2 separate regions of the Homo sapiens genome follow, and region 1 is linked to region 2. The links are contacts of gene promoters, found by promoter capture Hi-C in blood cells and fetal thymus (Javierre and others, 2016). All regions are on one chromosome and are shown on one strand. Each heading gives the region's core, a stretch centred on a gene start or on the middle of the fragment in contact. The rest is flanking DNA. Distances are from core to core; before and after follow the strand shown. Region 1 has its middle 28 kb from the start of MCM3. Region 2 holds the start of PAQR8 (progestin and adipoQ receptor family member 8).

Region 1 (4,892 bases), core at 502-3,001, 50 kb before region 2:
TAGGGACACTGAGCTAAGTGTACAGGGGAGCTCGCTGTATTACTTCTTTTTTTTTTTTTTTTTTTGAGACGAAGTCTTGCTCTGTTGCCAGGCTAGAGTGCAATGGCACAATGATCTTGACTCACTGTAATTTCTGCCTCCCAGGTTCAAGCGATTCTCCTGCCTCAGCCTCCTGGGTAGCTGGGATTACAGGTGCATGCCACCACACTCAGCTAATTTTTCTATATTTAGTAGAGACGGGGTTTCATCATGTTGGCCAGGTTGGTCTCGATCTCCTGACCTTGTGATCTTCCCACCTCGGCCTCCCAAAGTGCTGGGATTACAGGCATAAGCCACTGTGTCTGGCCTCTGTACTATTTCTTATAAGCATGTGTAAATCTGTAATTACATCAAATTTTTAAAATGAATAACCAAAAAATTATATTTCTCATAGAAACAGTCTTATTATTTTTTATTAATTTTTTTACAAAATAGATTTTTCAACTGGTTCATGAAAATGAGCAAAATGTATTGTCTAAATAAAGCCATACCAATTTTTCACCTTATGAGAAATGGAAGTTAGGTTCATTTGGAATAATCTCTTCTCAATGAAAACTTGTTGGTGCCTAGCAATGACTTCCCTTTTTTTATGTTTATAGGATGCCCTTCAAGAACTTTGCCCAGGACTCTGGCATCTATGGTTTGCAGAATCAACCTTCTTCCCCTTTTCACAAAATGGAATAGTGTGTACCCAGCCACAGTCTTCTGGCGTCTCTCCCCGGCCCCACAGTCCCTGAAAAGCTGCCAACAGTCTTCTCATATATAAATTCTGTTGGTACCCCAGCCGGAATTTGTCCAAGCTTGGAGACATAAGCTCATTGAAAGCTAGGCATTCTCATACAATACCCCATTTATTTTGTGCCTCAATGTCTTCCTGCTGATATTTGTATGAAGAACATTCAACTTTAGAAAAGTTGGAACAGGGAAGCTGGTGTTTAGAGGTGGAAGCCAGTAAGTTCCGGGTGCAAATCCAGATTCTTTCATTCTCCAAAGGTCTGATCTTGGGCTAGGTTATCCAATTCTTTGAACTTCAGTTTGCTAATCTGTAAGATGGGAATAATAATCGCTATTATTATTACTATTAGGTTTCAGGTTGTAGTGAAGATTGAATAAGATAATATTTGTAAAAATGCAGAGCACGAATGGATAGTAACAACAAAGCAGGTGAGATGAACAGATCTGCTTCCTCATAGATATGGGGATTAATGGGATTTCAGAGTTGGAGAGCACTAGAGAAGTCACCCAGTCCTACCTCCTGCTCAGCGAGAGTGGTACTCATGAGCCAGCACATTTCAGCATGAACCAGCTTCTCCCTGTCACCTATCACCATCCCATTCGCTCCTCAACAACATGCCTGTACCTTCCATCCCCCATCAAAACCTTTAGAAGGCCTTTTCTCTGTGCCAGTACTTTAAACCCTTTATCTCATTAATCCTTACAACAACCCTGTGATACGTTTTTAATGTTCCTTTTACAGCTATGGAAACTGAGGCTCAGAGATATTAAGTAACTTATCGAAGGCTACACAGTTAATAAACAGGATTCAGCCCAGGTCTGTCTGTAACCAATGCTCCTACTCTTTTCTGCAATATTACATGGCCTTTAAAAAAAAAATTCTTATTTTTCTCAAACAGCTCATTCTTGGCTTTATCCATTTTGTCAGCTGTCCTGAAAGTCCCTCTTTTAGGTGTCCGTCTTTTAGGTGTATCCTTCTGCTATGCACTAAATAGTGTCCACTGAAAATTCATATGTTGCAATGAACTTTAATCCCCAATGTGATGGTCTATGGAGATGGGGCCTTTGGGAGGTACTTAGGATTAGATGAAGTCTGACAGCGGGACTGTCACACTGAAGTCAGTGCCCTCATAAGAAGAGGCACCAGAGAGCTCACTCCACCATAGCCCCAGCACACAAACAGGAGGTCATGTGAGTAAACAGTAATGGCAGCCTCCTACAAGCCAAGAGAAGAGGCCTCAGGATGAGACCTGCCTTGCCAGCACCTTGATCTTGGACTTCCCAGCCTACCGAACTGTAAGAAATAAATTTCTGTGCCTTAAGCCATCGAAAAGTCTATGGCATTTTGTTATGACAGCCTGAGCAGACTAAGCCACCTTCATTGCATCTACATTCTCTTTTCTCAATGCGGCATTTTTCAAATCTGAGCTGACTAATGAGTTTGCATTTCAGCTTGATGGGTCTCTCCAGCTCTCAATTTCCTGCCTTCCCCATTGTTCATTGTATCCTCAGTGTTCAGTTTTTGACAGTTCTCTTATTCTCTGGAGACATCCTCCTGTTTAGTGTCTCAGGCCATGTAATCAGATCTGTGATTTTTCCCTGAATGGTTTGACATTTGCCTTCATAACATCTGACAGTGTCCATTCTTGTGTACTCCAAACTTTGAAAAGATACAGGTCTGCTCAGTTCTGGGGCATAGTGAAAAAAAGAAAGAAGGCATGGATACTTTTACCTAGGCTTCTAGTCCTTCAAGTTGACCCCATTAGTTTCTGCTTGGAGAAACTTTGGGGTCCAAGTTATGCCCAGACTACAGTGTCCCCTTACTTCCTCTGCTTCCTAGGAGCTGCAGTTCTTGGCCAGGCAAATCAACAGGTTAACAGATATGACGCGTAAGCTTTCCTGCCCTTACTGATACCTCCTCTCCCCGAATTGCTCTAGCATTTGTTGTTTATTCCTTCCAGTTTAGCCCTTGATTGCTGGGCCTTGTATCCATTAGGCAAAGTGCTCAGGACCTACATTTCTTCTATTTTTAATTGGCTCTTATTGGCAAATCTGGAATCAGGCAACATCTCATTCTACAAAATAGAATGAGTATTCCTGGACCTACAGTTCTTTCTAGGTCCACAAAAATGTCTGAGACTTTCAGGGATGAGGGGAGAATGACATTAAAAAAAAAAGTTTGCAAAATCAAAATTAATATATGTATCTTTAAATGTCCATAAATTTAACATGATGAAAATTAATTAACTGCAACTCAATTCTACTCTAATTATGTGGTGATATACGTGGTGTTTGATGTAAAATGTGGGTTCAATATATTTTGTACTATGTGGGGGTAGCAGAGCCTCTGAGATTAGAAATGCCTGGGACCTACTGGAGTCTTAAAACTGCTCTGCTTGATTGTTTTACTCTATGCTTTGTTCTAATTTCTTACATCATTCTTGATGATTTAGTAGCATCATGCTACTAAATAGGTAGTCAAATCCTTTAACATATTGCTATACCATGTGTTAAGTACTGTGTTCAGTACTTAGGGTGGGAGTGAGGGGTGATTCACAAAAGATAAAATGGGGGCCCTGGGCCTAAGGAGTTCAAAGTCTAGTTGGTAAGAAGCAGCTTTATCTTTCCCCACTTTCCTTTGCCTCCCCTCGCTTCTTTCAGTTCTTCAAATTCACTGAGTTTCTTCCTTCCTACCCCAGGACCTTTGCAGATGCTGTTCCTTGGAATACTTTTCCTGCTACCATTTGCTCAACTTCCTAACTCCTATCCATTCTTCATTTTAAATGTCACTCCCACTGGGCACAGTGGCTCATGCCTGTAATCCCAGCACTTTGGGAGGCCGAGGTGGGCGGATCACGAGGTCAAGAGTTCGAGACGAACCTGGCCAATATGGTGAAACCCCCGTCTCTACTAAAAATACAAAAAAAAAAAAAAAATTAGCCAGGCCTGGTGGCGGGTGCCTGTAGTCCCAGCTACGTGGGAGGCTAAGGCAGGAGAATCGCTTGAACCCGGGAGATGGAGGTTGCAGTGAGCCAAGATCTTGCCACTGCACTCCAGTCTGGGCGACAGAGCAAGACTCTGTCTCAAAAAAAATAAAAATAAAATAAAAATAAATGCCACTCCCTTAGAGACTTTCCCTGACAACACCCTGCCTTCACCCGCTAACCCATCTAATTTAGGTTCTACCTGCTATTCTTTCATAGCTTCCAAATGTTTTTGGTTTTGCCTTTGTAGCCCTTAGCATTTGGAATTACTTTACGCTTGCTTATTTATTTACAGTTTATCCTGCCTCACTTAAGGGTAGAATGAGGGTAGAGAAAAGGTTGGTTTTGTTCACTGCTGTCTATCAAGTGCTGATCACATCGTCTGGCAGACAGTAAGTGTTCATTAAGCATTTGTTTAATAAACAAAAAAGGAAGGGCACACACTCTTAAAGCAGTTAAATAGCAATGTGAAAATGCCTAGGATGAAAAGGAAATCAGAAGCAAGATATGGATATATAAGGGAGGGGTTGGGAGAGTTTCAATGGAGAGGAAGGATGGCTGGGACCTGGATAGATGGAAAGGAGGAGGCTGGGCATGCTGAGTTGGAGGCAACAGCGTGAGGAAGAGCCTGGATTGCTGGTCTGGGAACAGTTGAAACACTGGCCTGGCTGCCTGATTCACTCTCCCGGGTGGTAGAAGACCACATCAGACAAGTAGGTTCAGGCCATATTGTGGAGGGCCTTGAAAGCTGTCCTAACAGAAATGGGAAGCCATTGATGATAGTGATGAGACATCATAAAAGCAGTGGGAGATTAACTGCAGAGTGGATGGTGAACTGGACAGAGAACAGAGACAGTGTTCAGGGAGATCAACTAGCAGATCCTTGCAGTTACTCATAGTTGAGATTATTTATTTATTCATTCATTCATTTATTTATTTGAGACAGTCTCACTCTGTCATAAAGGATGGAGTGCAGTGGCATGACCTCAGCTTATTGCAACCTCCCTCTCCCAAGTTCAAGCGATTCTCGTGCCTCAGCCTCCCGAGTAGCTGGGATTACAGGCGTGTGCCACCAGCCCAGTTAATTTTTGTATTTTTAGTAGAGACAGTTTCACCATGTTGGCCAGGATGGTC
Region 2 (5,541 bases), core at 3,036-5,535:
AACATTTACATGTACCTCATAAATATGTACCATTATTAGCATCGATTAAAAATTTTAAAATAAATAAATTAGATAAGACTTTTAAAATAATGCTAAGTCCTTTTATCATTTATTCTTATAGTTTGCCATCTGAAACTCTTCAACTAGGAACTAGTTACATTAGAGAATGAGAGATCAGATATAAGGCCTCAAAACCTCACATGTGCCCAGGGCTTACGGAGGGCCCAGGAGCAATTTCTACATCTCTTTTTTGTCTACATGGGTTAATTTATTTGCTCCCTGAATTGTTATTATTAAAAGTAAACAAAAAGGAAAAAATGGCATGAGCAATTCCTAATGAAAATCAAATTAGCTTTAGTGAGCCCCTACCATTCCACCATTAAATGGATAAAATAGACAGACAGTACAAGAAAATCATGATTTTTATTTTTAATCTGACTAACCACAGTTCTTTAGCATCCTGTATGTGAAATTAGTATCATGGTTACTTTTCCCAGTTGGCCATTTGGCAGGGGATCTAAATAGAAAAACTAAGTATGGATGGCTATCTGATCATGGAATGTCAAGGAATGATGGATTTGACTTCACGGTAAAAAAATACAGACATTCAAGTTTCCCCAAATTCTTCCTATGTAGTCCACTGGGATAGTATATCTTTTCTGCAAGTAGAAAGCATTGAAACAAAGATCCCATAAACAACCACCTAAGCTGGGCACGGTGGCTCACGCCTGTAATCCCAGCACTTTGGGAGGCTGAAGAGGGCAGATCACCTGAGGTCAGGAGTTCGAGACCAGCCTGCCCAACATGGCGAAACCCCTGTCTCTACTAAAAATACAAAAAAATAGCAGGGTGTGGTGGTGGGCACCTGTAATCCCAGCTACTCAGGAGGCTGAGGCAGGAGAATTGCTTGAACCCGGGAGGTGGAGGTTGTAGTGAGCCGAGATTGCGCCATCACACTCCAACCTGGGCGACAAGAGCGAAACTCCGTCTCAAAAAAAAAAACCCACTTAAATGAAGTCATTGTCTTTTCACCCATTTAATCAGGCCTTCATTATAAGATATGTGGGTACAATTATTATTTTTGTGTTAGAGATAAGGATTCTGAAGTATAGAAAAGTTAAGTTACTGGCCAGGCATGGTGCCTCATGCCTGTAATCCCAGCACTTTGGGACCAACATGGCAAAACGGCATCTCTACTAAAAATACAAAAAATTAGCTGGGCGTGGTGGTGTGTGCCTGTAATTCCCGATACCTGAGAGGCTGAGGCACAAGAATTACTTAAAAAAAACCCCGAGAGGCCAAGGTTGCAGTGAGCCGAGATCATGCCACTGCACTCCAGCCTGGGCGACAGAGTGAGACTGTCTCCAAAAAAAAAAAAAAAAAGGAAGAAGAAAAGTTAAGTTACCTACTGAAGGCTCTTACTCCCAAGGCCACACTTTTAACCACTATGCAAAGTGCCTCTCCTTTTCTCTGACAAGATAGTGAAGAAATTAATAGTCCTCAGTCCTTTCATAAGATATAAAAAGAAAACAAAAATAGTACAGCTTTTAAATAACTCTTCACTGTAGCAGTTTTCACAAACAGGTCTACTTTTAGTATAAACCAGTATATATACCAGAATGTTCCAGGCAAGTGGTTTTAACTATTTCACACTTCCATTTCTCCATGTTACAATAAGACTACCAGTTTTTACCCCTTTCCTACTTCATATAAGTGTATGAAGTTGAGTAATATGATGTCATCAAACATACTTTGAGCTTCTTGGAAAAGTGATATGTAAACACAAAGTAGAGTGTTTATAAAAACAGTGTCAATGTGGTATGTATCCAATGTAAAATAGATCAAATTATTTTATTAGAGATTCGGACAAAAATAACTCTTTAATCTTATCTATTTTTTCATCATTTTGCATACTGCCTGTGTCTGTGGCTTTCAAGGGCAATCTGAAAGGGAACTAGGTCTGATACGTGTTGATTGGATTCGCAGTTTAGCATTCTCCTTATTGAGGAAATACTGCAGTACCCAAGATCTTGGCTGTTTCCAGGTTTTGGAAAAATCTCAGGTCAAAATTGTGTTGCCAGATGGGATTATTACATAGAGGAAAGTTGGCTGTGAATTTCCATATACCAAAGGCCATCCTAACTGTCTTTTATGAAGGACCCAACAGGCTTTTATTATAATTCAAAAATAGCCAGGTCACCCTAGGACTTTTTCCAGTGTTACCAAAACATCACTTTTACTGCCCAAACGGAAGTAGGCCATTACCTCACAGTAGAAAATAAAAGAAGCTAGCTTGAGACCAAGGTAGTTTTAAAAGGCATGAAGGATGAGAACCACCATTCTTATTTAGTGGCTCTGGACAGCGTCACTTGGAAACAGAACTGCCTCATGCACAGATAACAATGCCTGACACCCATTACACTTTACATGCACGTTCACATCTGCCTTTTGGATAAAGGGCAAGAAGAAAGGAACATTTACCATTGAGAAAGAATTAGAAGCCTTGTTAGTCTCCTTTTAAGACTTCTTCACATTCCACATGGATTAACTGTTAGGGAGAAAAACACTGCAAAAATAATCAGCAATGCATTTCGGAGGCTCATCAGCTCCCGGCTGACAGCTCACGTTAGTTGGATGAAGGCTGTGGATAGGCTTTTAGATGTGCTAACCTGTAATTTTGTTTCTAGAGTGGCCCAAAGTGGAAGGAGTTTTCACTCCCTCTCAATAAGCCCTCTTGTACGGTTGTGACCTCTGGCCTATCATAGGTTTTTGACGATAAAGGAGAGCCCGGGTTTTTGAGGTTAAGGGAGAGTTCCCTGACATCTTTGGGGTGAAGAAGAGATGGAGGGAGCAAAGCTGCCAAAGACCTCCTGTGACATTTCCACTAGTATCCACCTATAAGTAAGTGCTGGACTATGATTCCCTGGGGAGATCAGTGGCTCTAAAGACAGGCCCCTGGGCTCTTTCCTGGCTCTGACTCAGCTTCAAACCTGCCGTGCAACTGCTCAGAGTCTAAATGTCTTCATTTATGGAACTGAAATAATCCTGCTAAGATTACTTTCTTTGCTTCGTGATGTTTGCCTGAGAATAAGTAGCTGGGACTACAGGCGTGTGCCACCACGCCCATCTAATTTTTGTATTTTTTGCAGAGACAGGGTCTCACCTTGTTACCCAGGCTGGTCTCGAACTCCTGGGCTTAAGCAATCTGCCCACTTTGGCTTCCCAAAGTTCTGGGATTACAGGTGTGAACCATCACACTCGGCTAAAATGTTTTGAAAAATGGAAACATTGTACAAATGTGAGATGTTGTGCAACATGTCACTGAAACACGGTGGTATAAGAGAAGTTTTGGGAACCAGCAGACCAGAATTAGGCCTGAGAAAATCTTACAGTAAGCAGACCAGAATTAGGCCGTCTGAGAAAATCTTACAGTAAGCAGACCAGAATTAGGCCTGTCTGACAAAATCTTACAGTAAGCAGGCCATCTTCCCAGGCCTTCTCTTTTCTCCAGATAATGAAGAAGGCTTTTTAAAAGCAAAGCCAACTTGATTTGTTAATTGATCATCCAACTTCTTAACTGTCTTTTTCTCATGGTAAAATACCGAGAACATTGTGGGTGAGGAGCAAGTCGGGAGGTGGAACCCACCCCCGCACCCTGCCTCCAATAGATTGTATGTGTGGGTCGCTATTGCTGGGACCCACGAAGGCTGTGGATTGAGGACACAGGGTAGAAGTGGGATCTTCTGCAGGTCAGTGTCAGATGTGTCTGTGTGATGTAGTCATGGGAGAGGCGCGAGTCTTGGGCGGGTGTATCTTAGGGGTGTGGAAGTGTCTGCAAGGGCCTCCGTGGTATGTCATCACATTATTTATATCATGGGCATGACCCTGAACGTTCACCCGAGAGTGGTGAGAGAAAGGCCAGGATTTAAATCAGTCTTGACAGCGCAGATGAAGTTTGTTATTGTTTTCCGCCCTTCCCGAGGGACTTCGGAAATGGCCCCCTGAGAGGTGAATTCTTGGAAAGAATATGAGGGCGGTTAAGGCGTCTCTGTCTCAAACTCTCCGGATTTTTTGCAGCTACCAGGGACTGCGAGGGTCTGCGTCCTGGGTGGAAGGAAGCGGCGTCAGTCAACTTCCTCGCAGCGGCGGCAGCGGCGCGGGCTGCAGCGGAGCGCGCGGGTCTGCGCATCCCGCCCCCGGGTCGGGAAGGGGCGGAGCTGGGCGTCACCCGCCCCCGGCGGTCTCCTCCTCCCGGCCGCTCCCCCGAGCCGAGCCCGCCGCGGTCACAGCCACCCGCGGGAAGCTCGTGGCCGGGACCCCGAGGCGGGAGCGCGGGCTGGGCCGGGCTGGGCTACGCGCACGGGCTCGGCCGCCGCCCCTGCCGGTGAGTCCCGCCGCGGGAGGCGCGGAACGGGTCGAGTTGGGTATTGGGACCGCGAGGTCGGGGAGCCCCGGGGCCCGAGCTCGGGAGGCGGGGACGTCAGGATCGCGGCGTTGGGGAGTCCTCGCACCCCGAGCTCAGAGGGGAGGTCCAGAGTCGCAGCGTTGGGAACCTGAGGCCAGGGGCCGGAGTTTAGGGCCCCGATGTTGAGTCTCCGAATCCAAGCCCGGAAGGGGGGACGACGGGTTAGGATGCTGGGGAGCCCTGGAGCTCTGAACGGCTGTAGTGGGGTGGCCAGGACTGCGATGCTGGGGAGTCATGGAGCCTGAGCCTGGAGAGCTGGCGGGGGTGTGGGGACCGCGATGTTGGGAAGGCTGAGCCCGGAGGGCGGGAGATTCAGGACCAAGACGTGGGGGAGTCCGACAGGGCAGAACGAGGGGCGTCCTGTCCGCATTTGTGGGGCGCCCTCCGCAGGGCGGAGGGGAACGGAACCTGGGAGGGGAGTGCGGAGGAGAGGAAGCCCGGGGCGGTAGGGAGAGCCCGAGGAAGGGCAGCCCGAGGTAGGGGAACCCCGGAAAGAGTAGGGTGGGTCTAGGCATGTGCTTTCGCCGGGGAAAGATGGAGGGGGCTTCTCTGAGAGGGTGGGCGCGAGGAGCGGAGTTGTGATGGGAACCGCCGGCAGCTGGCTAATGGGCGGATGCTGGGGCTTGGCTGGATGGGAACGCCGCGGTGGGGTGTCGGAGGTGGCTGGTGGGGCTGGAACGCTGGGAACGTCTGTCTAGGCTATGAGAACGCAGCGCCCTCGGTGGAACAGGGTCGTAGATAACTCGAGAGGGAATCTAGTCTAGGGAGCAAGACCGGGCATCCCCAGACGGAGGCGGGTGGGGACCTCGCACTCAGCGCGCTTGGGGAATATTCGGAGCCTGGGTTTGGGGGCTGCTGCACCTTGCCGACCCGGTGCGGGGACCTGGAGGTAGCCGGGCACAGCAGCTTCCTGTGCAGCTGTGGGTGCTCCAGGCACTGGCAGACTAGTGGGAAGTCCAGGAGCCTTGGCAGGCTCATTGTCTTGACCTAAGTTGCATTCCATATTTCTTAGCTGGGTTAGAAATGATTTTGTCCAGGAACCCAATGAGAAGAGCCTGGGCTAAAAAAATTAGTTA

What was found. Contacts are between HindIII fragments. The CHiCAGO score rates a contact against its expected background, and 5 or more counts as called.
Region 1: a contact is called between a fragment that was not itself captured here and the fragment with the promoter of PAQR8 in region 2, in 3 of 17 cell types (non-activated CD4 T cells, activated CD4 T cells and naive CD8 T cells). The highest score is 7.2, in non-activated CD4 T cells.

The regions. Positions count from the first base shown.
Region 1 is chr6:52,310,368-52,315,259 of GRCh38, forward strand. No RefSeq gene overlaps it. Among named protein-coding and RNA genes, the nearest start is that of MCM3, 28 kb to the left of the region's middle. The HindIII fragment of the contact is 1,829 bases long and covers 838-2,666 here.
Region 2 is chr6:52,357,866-52,363,406 of GRCh38, forward strand. It overlaps PAQR8 (progestin and adipoQ receptor family member 8), which reads left to right and starts at 4,286. Exons shown (of 2, transcript NM_133367.5): 1 at 4,286-4,384. RefSeq lists silencers at 3,690-3,875, 4,049-4,538. The HindIII fragment of the contact is 8,624 bases long and covers 1-5,541 here.